2 separate regions of the Homo sapiens genome follow, and region 2 is linked to region 1. The links are contacts of gene promoters, found by promoter capture Hi-C in blood cells and fetal thymus (Javierre and others, 2016). All regions are on one chromosome and are shown on one strand. Each heading gives the region's core, a stretch centred on a gene start or on the middle of the fragment in contact. The rest is flanking DNA. Distances are from core to core; before and after follow the strand shown.

What was found. Contacts are between HindIII fragments. The CHiCAGO score rates a contact against its expected background, and 5 or more counts as called.
Region 2: a fragment that was not itself captured here is called in contact with the fragment with the promoter of LCA5 in region 1 in 1 of 17 cell types (total B cells); the score reaches 6.0 in total B cells.

What each region holds. Positions count from the first base shown.
Region 1 is chr6:79,534,553-79,539,369 of GRCh38, reverse strand. It overlaps LCA5 (lebercilin LCA5), which reads left to right and starts at 1,940. Exons shown (of 8, transcript NM_001122769.3): 1 at 1,940-2,205. It also overlaps a transcript of SH3BGRL2 not described here. RefSeq lists enhancers at 323-896, 1,427-1,476, 1,471-2,044. The HindIII fragment of the contact is 3,782 bases long and covers 982-4,763 here.
Region 2 is chr6:79,996,161-80,000,977 of GRCh38, reverse strand. No RefSeq gene overlaps it. Among named protein-coding and RNA genes, the nearest start is that of TTK, 6.1 kb to the left of the region's middle. The HindIII fragment of the contact is 390 bases long and covers 1,877-2,266 here.

The DNA of each region.
Region 1 (4,817 bases), core at 691-3,190:
TTCTGAAAAGCAGAATCCTGTGTGGTACTGAAATAAAATGTCAAATGGTATCTTAGAAAATTCTAGCCCTATCAAAAATAATATATAAAACCATGTAATGTCATAAAACTTTTAAAACTGCTTTCTCATATTTTGGGGTAACCTTTTAAAATGGTAATTCAATAAACTAGTTTTTACTTCTGTAAATTTATACATTTTTTGGTCTTTTTTCAAGGTCAAACTGATACTGTTATTTTGAATATGAGGGGGTGAATAAAATTGCACACTGTAAGAATCCTGAGACTATGTTACACACAACTAGACAATTTTTTGGATTCTCCCAGCGTCTTAAATATTTTCTTGCTTACCAACAACTTCTTAACCTGTAGGTGAAACACAATGAAGGCACTAAATCCGAAACCACGAAATTTGGAAGCAGACCTAGGCTTGTACTCTGGCATTACTACTTACTACTTTCGTACCTTGTGGTAGATACTTTAACTTCTCTGAATCTGCTTTCTCAAGTATAAACAATGAATAACAATACCTGTCTGGAGTCATGAATGAAGATGGAATGAGATTACACTGCCTGGAGCATTCTGAGTGCTGAATAAATGGTGGTTTCATTCTCAGCTCTCCTTCAGCAATCCTGATCTGACGCTCCTGTGACAGACATTTGTCCACGTAAATACGGTATGTTTTCTGATTCTTCCTAGCAACTTCCTTTATAAGTAATCCACCCATACATTTACATGTTAATTCTAACAGAGTCCATAATAACGAGTGAGCTATTTTAACAGTGTCAGCAGAGACAGATTAAAGAATTGATGAAAAGTAATTCCGTGCAATTTAGGGATTACTCATCTTATTTTCACTAACAGATGACTGCCATCTTGTACAGATGTATTTCGCATACAGAAAATTACATTTAATCACAATATTGTTTGGGTGGGTTAGTCTGTAACTTGAAGTAAAATGTATTGACAGGATAAAATGAAAGCTTTGAAACAGTGCAAAGGTGGAAAAACGAGGTTGAGCGAGAAGCAGGAATTACCAATCTTCATGGTTAGAAGATTCATTAAACGCATTTGCCTTCAAATATTAGATTCTCTACAGAATGGTGGTAAAAAGGCCAGTGAGAAATTAACAATAGTGAGAACACCAGAGTAGTGTTAAACCACCTTGATAATCAGATGGCTCGGAGCAGTTTAAAGCCCTCACGAAAGAGGATTTTTTTTTACCTTCCCTGTCTCCCGCAATTAATGCCATTTCTAAAAGAGAAAATATGTCACACATCAGCGCTCAATAGGCTGACATGCTCCTCAAAACGTTCCTTAAAAAAAAAAAAAAAAAAAAAAAAAAAAAAAAAAAACTTGTGTGCAAATATTTCAGATGCCATTCCACCCCAAACCCGTTCCAAAACCTAAAAATCACTTTCAAGCCAAACTCACGGCTCGTTGGTGATTCACAGCCAGGATCTCGAGGCAGGAACAATAGTGCACTCACCCCGCATCCTCCTGAATCAGCCATTTCGGTAAGAAGATCCAGAAGCACTAGCAGTTTGTTTGTAATTTGTTTACAATTTAAAAGCAAGTTATTTCCCAAAGGAAATCTAAGCAATTGTTAAGTGTTTTACATTACGCAGTCGCCAATTTTACAATTCATATCATGAACCCACTTTGCCCTCCGCCCGCGTCCCTCTCGGAGCCCACGACGCTCAGCAGTCGAGCCCTGGCACCGCACAGCCCGTAGGAGCCTGGAGCGCTCCGCGTTTTGCCCCAATTTCCCTACTTGGGGGTCTCCGCTACAGCTAGAGCGGTCGGCCAATGGAGACCTTCTCCCGCACTCGCCGTCCCGCCTTCCAGTTCCACTGAAGCCAATAAAAAGGGCCGTCTGGAGACAGAAGCCAATGGGAGCTCGGGTAGAGTCATCATGATTGGCTGCGGTCTCTTCGTAGTGCAGTCTAGGCCTCCGCCTCCGTTACCCTGGAGCCCAGGTTACCGCCGCTGCCACCCAGGAGCCCCGATCCTCGCCTCTGTCCCATCCTTGTGTTCAAACCTCCCGCATCTCGGCAACCTCGGCACCCGCCCGGCAGCCTCCGCAGGAACCAGGCACCCGCTCTTTGGCGGTCAGACGCCGAGGCCCCAGCTGGGAGTTTGGTCCTAAGAGGGAAGGCAAGGAGGCGGGACGCCGCATCGGCTCTGCTGAAGAGCCTGCGGGTTGGAGGTGGGCTTTGAAGTGGGCGTGGAGACGGCGGGGGAGGTGGAGGTGCGAGGTGAGGCTGGGTTGAAGCGTCTGGTAGCTAGTGAAGGGGCGTTCGTGGATGGGGGCCTGCGGGTGGTTCTTAAAGCAGGGAAGATGAAGGGATTAGGGATGGGGGAGGATGTAGGGACCGCGAGGAGAAGGAAGACCTAGGAAAATGAGTAAAGAGCTCGGCTTCTGAGAGGGTCCCGAGGAAGGGAGGTTGACCGGCACTGGGGGGACTGGGAAGTTAGGAGGAGAGGAGCTGGGAAAGGGTATTTACTTCCTGGGACCGAGAAGAGAAGAAAGGGAGCAAGCGGATCTAGAGAAGTGGTTGTTATTAAAACAAACAAAACAAAAACCCCGGAGGCCCGTGGAGACTCAAGACTAGAGAGGAGGGGCAGGGCCAAGGGCCAAGACGGAAAAGGAGGCTTTGGTAGCTCTCGGATAATAATAGATGTGTTATTATTAAAACTGTGGTTAGAGTGGAAAGCCGTACTTGTCCAGGCTGTGATACTTCTATACATCCTTCAGGGATGGGATGAGAGGAGTAAAGATGGTTAGAAATAAAAGAAAAAAGAAAGTGCCTTTTTGGCATACTCGAGTTGGAGTCGGTACTCAGATACGTGATGTTTACGTTAGATAGACCGTGGGATAGTGTTTAACAGTGAAGAGCCCTGGTCCAGTTCATCTGATATAAACCCCTTTTTTGTTCACTTTGTTCTTTGGAAAGTATACTTGGGCACATACATATTTATTCCCCTCCTTTATCTTCACGTTAAGAACTTGCATTAGAGATATCTTTGCAATCAGAAGTCATCATTTAGTTTTTGGCAGAGGGAGTGGCTATATGTGTTTTAGAATGGTAAAACCGATGTTTCCAGTTCTTTACTCATTCCCTCTTTCTTTTGCATGGTTATTTTAATCTATGTTTTTTTCCAGTTGTTCCACATTTAAATTCTATATTACCATTTTAAATATTTCACTTTGTGATTTCCCATGTTAGCTAGTATGTTTATCCAAATAAGTTATAGGAAATAATAGTTTGTTTTGATTCTCTAAGTTGACAAAGTATCATTTTAAATATCAAAAAGTAGTTTGTGACTTTGGAAAAGAGATTTTTCTTCTTTTGTGAGTCACATCTCTTCCGTTACACATATTGTGGAACTATAATTCTGTAGGACACAATGGAAGCCCATTAAATAAAGATGCTACCCTTCTCTTGGGTTCTTCATCTGCCTGTCATTCTTCAACTCCTTTGTGGGATCTTCTTCCTCGGCCCACCATATTTCATTATTGTTTTTCCCAATAATCCAGTCTTCAGTCTTCCGTCTTCTATTTTTTACTCTGTGTTCTTGGCTGTGTTCTTCCTCTCCTTTGGCTTACACTATTTGTGTTTTATTAACACTCTCCCAATTTTTTATTTCTGATCTGGAACTTTTGAGTTACTGTCAAACTTTTGTAGCTAATTTTTGGTATTTCCACATAAATTTCCTATCCATAGGCATCCCAAACTCAGTATGTCCAATATTGAACCCATCACCTTTCCCTGCCAAAGCTGTCCTGCTTGAATACCACATTCTCCTAATTTTGCAAGCCCAAAACTTTGGAATTTACTCAAGTTCTTCTCTATTCTCAGACTTCATATTTAATCTGTCACCAAGTGTAGTTTATCTTACTTGAAAAACATTTCTGGAATCAGTTCCGTACTCTGTATCTCTAGTTATACTACTTTCAAAACACTGTCTGTCAGTGATTATCGAGACCAATTGATATTCTTCCTCCAGCTTTCCTGCCCTCCAATTCTTAGATTGGAGATGGATCCTTGCAAATGTCAGATCTGATAATATTAACCCTACTGAAGAGCCTTGGTTTCCAACCAACTTATTAATGACATAGAGATTCTTCTTGTGATATTATCTTCCACCCGATCCAGTCCCACTTATTATTACTTTAGCACTACTCCCCAGCCAGTGCCATCCTTTTAAACTAGCATTGTCCATTTGAAATAGAATGTGAGCTATATCCATTTTTTTCAGTAGACACACAATAAAATACAGGTGAAATTTTAATGTATTTTTAAGTCACATATATCCAGAATATTATTTTAGCATATGTCAATGTAAGAAAGATTATAGAAGAGCTATTTTATGGTCTGTTTTATGTACTAAGTTTTCAAAATTCCACATGTATTTTACACTTGCCGCATATGCCAATTCTGAATAGCTACATTTGAGGTGCTCAGGAGCCACTGTATTGGACAGCACAGTTGTAAAGTATTTGCAGTTTGGTGATATGCCATGCTTATCTAATGCCTTTTACTTTTGCAAATGCTGCATCCTCTTATTGAGACAGGGTCGTACTTCACTGTCTTCTTTTTCTAACCTCATTTACCCCCCCACTTTTCAAACACACACATCCATGAAATTATAATTGTGCTTAACCTCTGCTAATACCGTAAGACTCAATTTAGGCATTATCTCCTCTAGAAACCTTCTCAAACTCCCTCTGTCCTCTAATCTTAGTTCTGAGTTTACTAAGCTTTCTCTGCTTCCTTTTATCATTAGTACTTATAGACTGTCGCATTATTTTTTTTT
Region 2 (4,817 bases), core at 822-3,321, 460 kb before region 1:
ATGCAGGCAATAAACTATGCTAACAAACAGCAGAAGAAAAGTAGGATTCTCAGTTCCTATTTTTCTTTTTTCTCCAATATGAAGAATAGCAGTCAGACTGACAATCTTAAAAATAAATACAGGACAGGCTATATAAGAAAGACATTTAAATTCCATCCAAACTCTCTGACACAAATGAAGTGTGTGTGTATGTATGTGTGTGTGTGTGTGTGTGTGAGAGAGAGAGATAGGCTCTGGCTTTGTCACCCAGGCTGGAGTGCAGTGGTGTGATCTTGGTTCACTGCAACTTCTACCTCCTGAGCTCAAGCCATCCTTCCACCTGAGACTCCCAAGTAACTAGTACTACAGGTTCATGCCACAACACCCGACTAATTGTTGTATTTTTTGTAGAGACAGGGTTTTGCCATGTTGCCCAGGCTGGTCTCAAACTCCTGAGCTCAAGCAATGCACCTGCCTCGGCCTCCCAAAGTGCAGGGAAGCATTGTGATGGTCTGTGATTACCATCACACCTGGCCATAATTTTTTTTTAAATGTATCCAGGTTGGGTGCAGTGGCTCATGCCTGTAATCCTAGCACTTTGGGAGGCTGAGGCGGGGCAGATCACCTGAGGTCAGGAGTTCGAGACCAGCCTGACCAACATGGAGAAACCCCGTCTCTACTAAAAATACAAAATTAGCCAGGCGTGCTGGTGCATGCCTGTAATCCCAGCTACACGGAAGGCTGAGGCAGGAGAATCACTTGAAACTGGGAGGCAGAGGTTGTGGTGAGCCAAGATCTCGCCATTGCACTCCAGCCTGGGCAATAAGGGCGAAACTCTGTCTCAAAAAAAAAAAAAAAAAAAATATATATATATATATATATATATATCTCCATACATTTTCAGTCTCTGCTATATAGAGAGAGCCTCACGTAGTTGGTTAATATACCACAATATCCTGAAGAAAATAAGCAGGATATTGAAAAAAAACGTGCAAATATAATCCCAGAAACATTGCTGGCAATCTCTGAAAAGTCATAATAAGTAGAAGCAATGATAGAAAGCCAGAAATGGATGGACAAGTGTTACCTTTTTGGAAAAGGTAGAATTTGGAAGCTATTAATCTCTATAATCTCAATGTAGATTTTAGAATTTTAGACCCCTTCTGGGATCAATTACCGAACTGTTTGGAAGCAAAGATCTCTAGAAGCCAATGTAAATGCATTAAGAGCAGGCTATATAGAATATACTAAGTTCTGATTTTGATTGTTTGTATATTTAGAAAAGGGAAGGCCATAAATACAGACTATCTTAACTTTGGCAAATAAAATGATAAAGGCTCTCTTACTGCTTTTGTGGAAGAAAGGAGCAAGTAATTCCCATATGGTTAATGTGAAGTATTTCTGCAACTCTGGATCATTTTTCTCCAAGATCACTTGTTAATAGTTTGAGAACTTCAGGTTGATCCCTAGTAGAAGGTCTCAGAACTCTGTCTGTGGTTTTATTCTAAACTACATATCTTATCTGTGTCACAAACATATAAAAATAATGCTTAACTTTTCATATGAATTAAAAAAAGACAAAATTAGAAGATACTTTAAAAGGACAAAGTTGATAATATGCAATTTATAGAGATAAATGTAAGTCTGTACATTTAGATTTCTAAAAATAATAAAATTATCAAATACACAGTTAGAGTCTAGCCAAGATGAAGAAACATGGTTCAGATTTATTCTCTGAAACAACAGTAACAACAAAAACTATACAAAATAAATGAAATAATGGTTTTCAAGCATCAGACATCAGGCAATACAGTACAGTGATCCTTAAGAATAGTGAAACAAACAAGTGAGTCATAATGTTGCCTCCAGATTACTTACTGGTGAGAGTTTCCAAGCTTCAGTGTACAAAGGGAGAACCCAGGCATTGCCTGGTATTCTAAAGTTAGGAAGATGGAGTTCATAGTCTGGAATGGCCAAGGCAGGTGAAGTTCACAGGACAGCGTACCAGAGAAAAAGAGCAGAACAGAGAGAGAATTCTGGAAATCTGCAGAGAATGTCCTTGAGTCTCCAGCTCTGTATTGGTAAGTGCAAGTGTATGTGGAAACTATCACAAGACCAGAGGAAGATAACAACCAGGGGAAAGAATAAAAGGGAATAATGTCAAGAGCTCATAAAGGACAAGAAATAGTTTTTGTTCACAAAGCAACAAGTAGAAGACTCATGATATTGCCTTAGAACTGGAGCAAAATTAGCCCTACAGCATGCAATGGCCCAGTCTATAAAAGCTTAAGAGCAAACCTTAAAAGGATCAGTATTTATAGAAATATGAGAAAATCCAACTGGGTCAAATTTACAATGTCTGGCATCTAATTAAAAAATTACTAGGCACTTAAAGCAGGAAAATGTAAATCTAAATGAGGAAGTGGGGGTGGAAATCAGTCAATTAAAACAGATGCAGAAGTGGCACAGATTACCCACTAATAGACAAACAGTAATTATAACTGTATTCCATATGTTCCAGAAAGTAGAGGAAAGTGTAAACATGTTAAAAAGAAATATGGAATATATGAGAAGACCAAAAACAAATGTATAGAGATGAAAAATGCAATACCTGCAATAAAAATTATATTGGATAGGATTAATAGCAGATTACAGTCTGGAAAACAAAATATCCTAAACTTGAAAACATATCAATAATAAACTATGCAAAATAAGGCACAGAGAAGCAAAGAAACAAAAATACAAAGAACTTCAGTGAGTTGTGGAAAAACAATGTGGCATAATGTACATGTGATTGGAGTTTTCACAAGAAAGAAGGGAGAATTGAAGAATATATTTGAAGAAAAAATGGCCAAAATTTGTTTAAATATGTTGAAAACCATAAACAAACAAATTGAAGAAGTTCAACAGATTCTAAACACAAAAAACTTCATGAAAACAACACCTGTGCACATTATTACATTGGACAAAACTAATGATAAAGAGAAAATATTAAAAGCAACCAGAGGAAAAGTACAAATTAGATATAGATGAACAATCATAAGAACAGTAGACTTCTTGCCAGAAACAATGTAAGCTGGGCAACAATGGAGTGACATCTTTAACCCTTTTCCCATTTAGGAAAAAAAACTACAGTTGCCTGCCATCACTCATTTAATTTTACATAAACATGCTTTTTGAGGCTGAAGCAAATCTGACTGATTTTCAATGTGAAAATAAAATCTAAAAACTGCTCTTGGAGTTATTTCTAAACGTAACTAACATCAGAATTGTCTGAATCATCAGTATTGTCAGTTTTGAAAAAATTGGATTCATCAAATCAATCTTCAGCCAACAACTGTTTGAGAATGATGTTAACATCACACGTAGAAATGCTGTGTTTTATAGGATTTGACATTTTCAGCAATTGAGAATTACTATGTTTTGTAAATGGAAATACAAAACACCAGTACTAAAAACAGAATATTGTAATACTGTTATTATTTTATTTATTTTTTATTTTTTTGAGACAGGGTCTTTCTCTGTTGCCCAAGCTGGAGTGCAGTGGTGCGATCTCGGCTCACTGCAATATCTGCCTCCCAGGTTCAAACAATTCTCCTGCCTCAGCCTCTCAAGTAGTTGGGATTACAGGTGTGTGCCACCATGCCTGGCTAATTTTGTATTTTTAGGCTGTTCTCGAACTCCTGACCTCAAGTGATCTGCCTGCCTTAGCCTCCCAAAGTATTGGGATTACAGGTGTGAGCCACCTCACCTGGCCCAGAATGTTGTAAGTAGAATGATGTCTTTGTTTCCAAAGTCAATGTACTAGAATGATGCAAAAATAATAAAAGTGAGATATTTTGTGGCAAATTTATCTCAGGGTAAACACAGCAGCTACAGGCATGTATTCTTGGGGCAAACAGGAAAAGGGTTAAAATGCTGAAAGAAAAAGAAAAAATAATTCTATAAACCTAGAATTGTTATTTCCAGCAAAAATATTGTTCATTATGAAGGGAAAATAAAGATTTTTTTTCAGACATACAAAAGCTGAAATAATTCATCACCAGTAGAATGGCACCACAAAAATTATTAAAGGAAGCCTTCAGGCAGAAAAATTCTGAATCTACATAAAAGAATAAAGAATACTGGAAATGGTAAATATGTGGATATGTAAAAAGATATTTTTCTTATTTTTGAAATCTCTTTAAGAGATAACTAAAGCAAAAGATGATAACAATGTACTGTCAGGTTTATAACATATAGAGAAGTAAAACATGACAACACTCACACCAGTGCTGGGAGGAGGAAAATGAAAGAATATTATTTAAGGTTTCTTTCTACTCTACATAAATTGGTATATTACTTGTGATAAGTTAAAGGTGAACTCTATAAACCTCCATTCTCTATCATGGTAACTAGCCACATGTAGCTCTTGAGCCCTTGAAATGTAATTGGTCCAAAATGAATGTGCTGTAAGTATAGAATACACACCAGATTTCAAAGACATAGTGTAAAAAGAATAAAATTTACCATTAATATTTATATACTGTTGCAAATTATTAATATTATTATTATTAATTGAAATTACAATAATTTGGGAATATTACTTTTAATTTCACCTGCTTCTTTTAACTTTTAAAAAGTGTGGCTATTAGAAAACATATAAATTACATATGTGGCTCACATTATGTATCTATTGGACAGTGTTACTAGAAACCCTAAAGTAGCCACTAAAATCAAACAAACACAAGTAAAAGCCAACAAACAAACAAAAAAAAACACAGCTACTAAGTGAACAAAAGACAGAAAACAAAAAATATTCATTTAATACTAATGAAGCAGAGAAAGAGGAAAAAAGT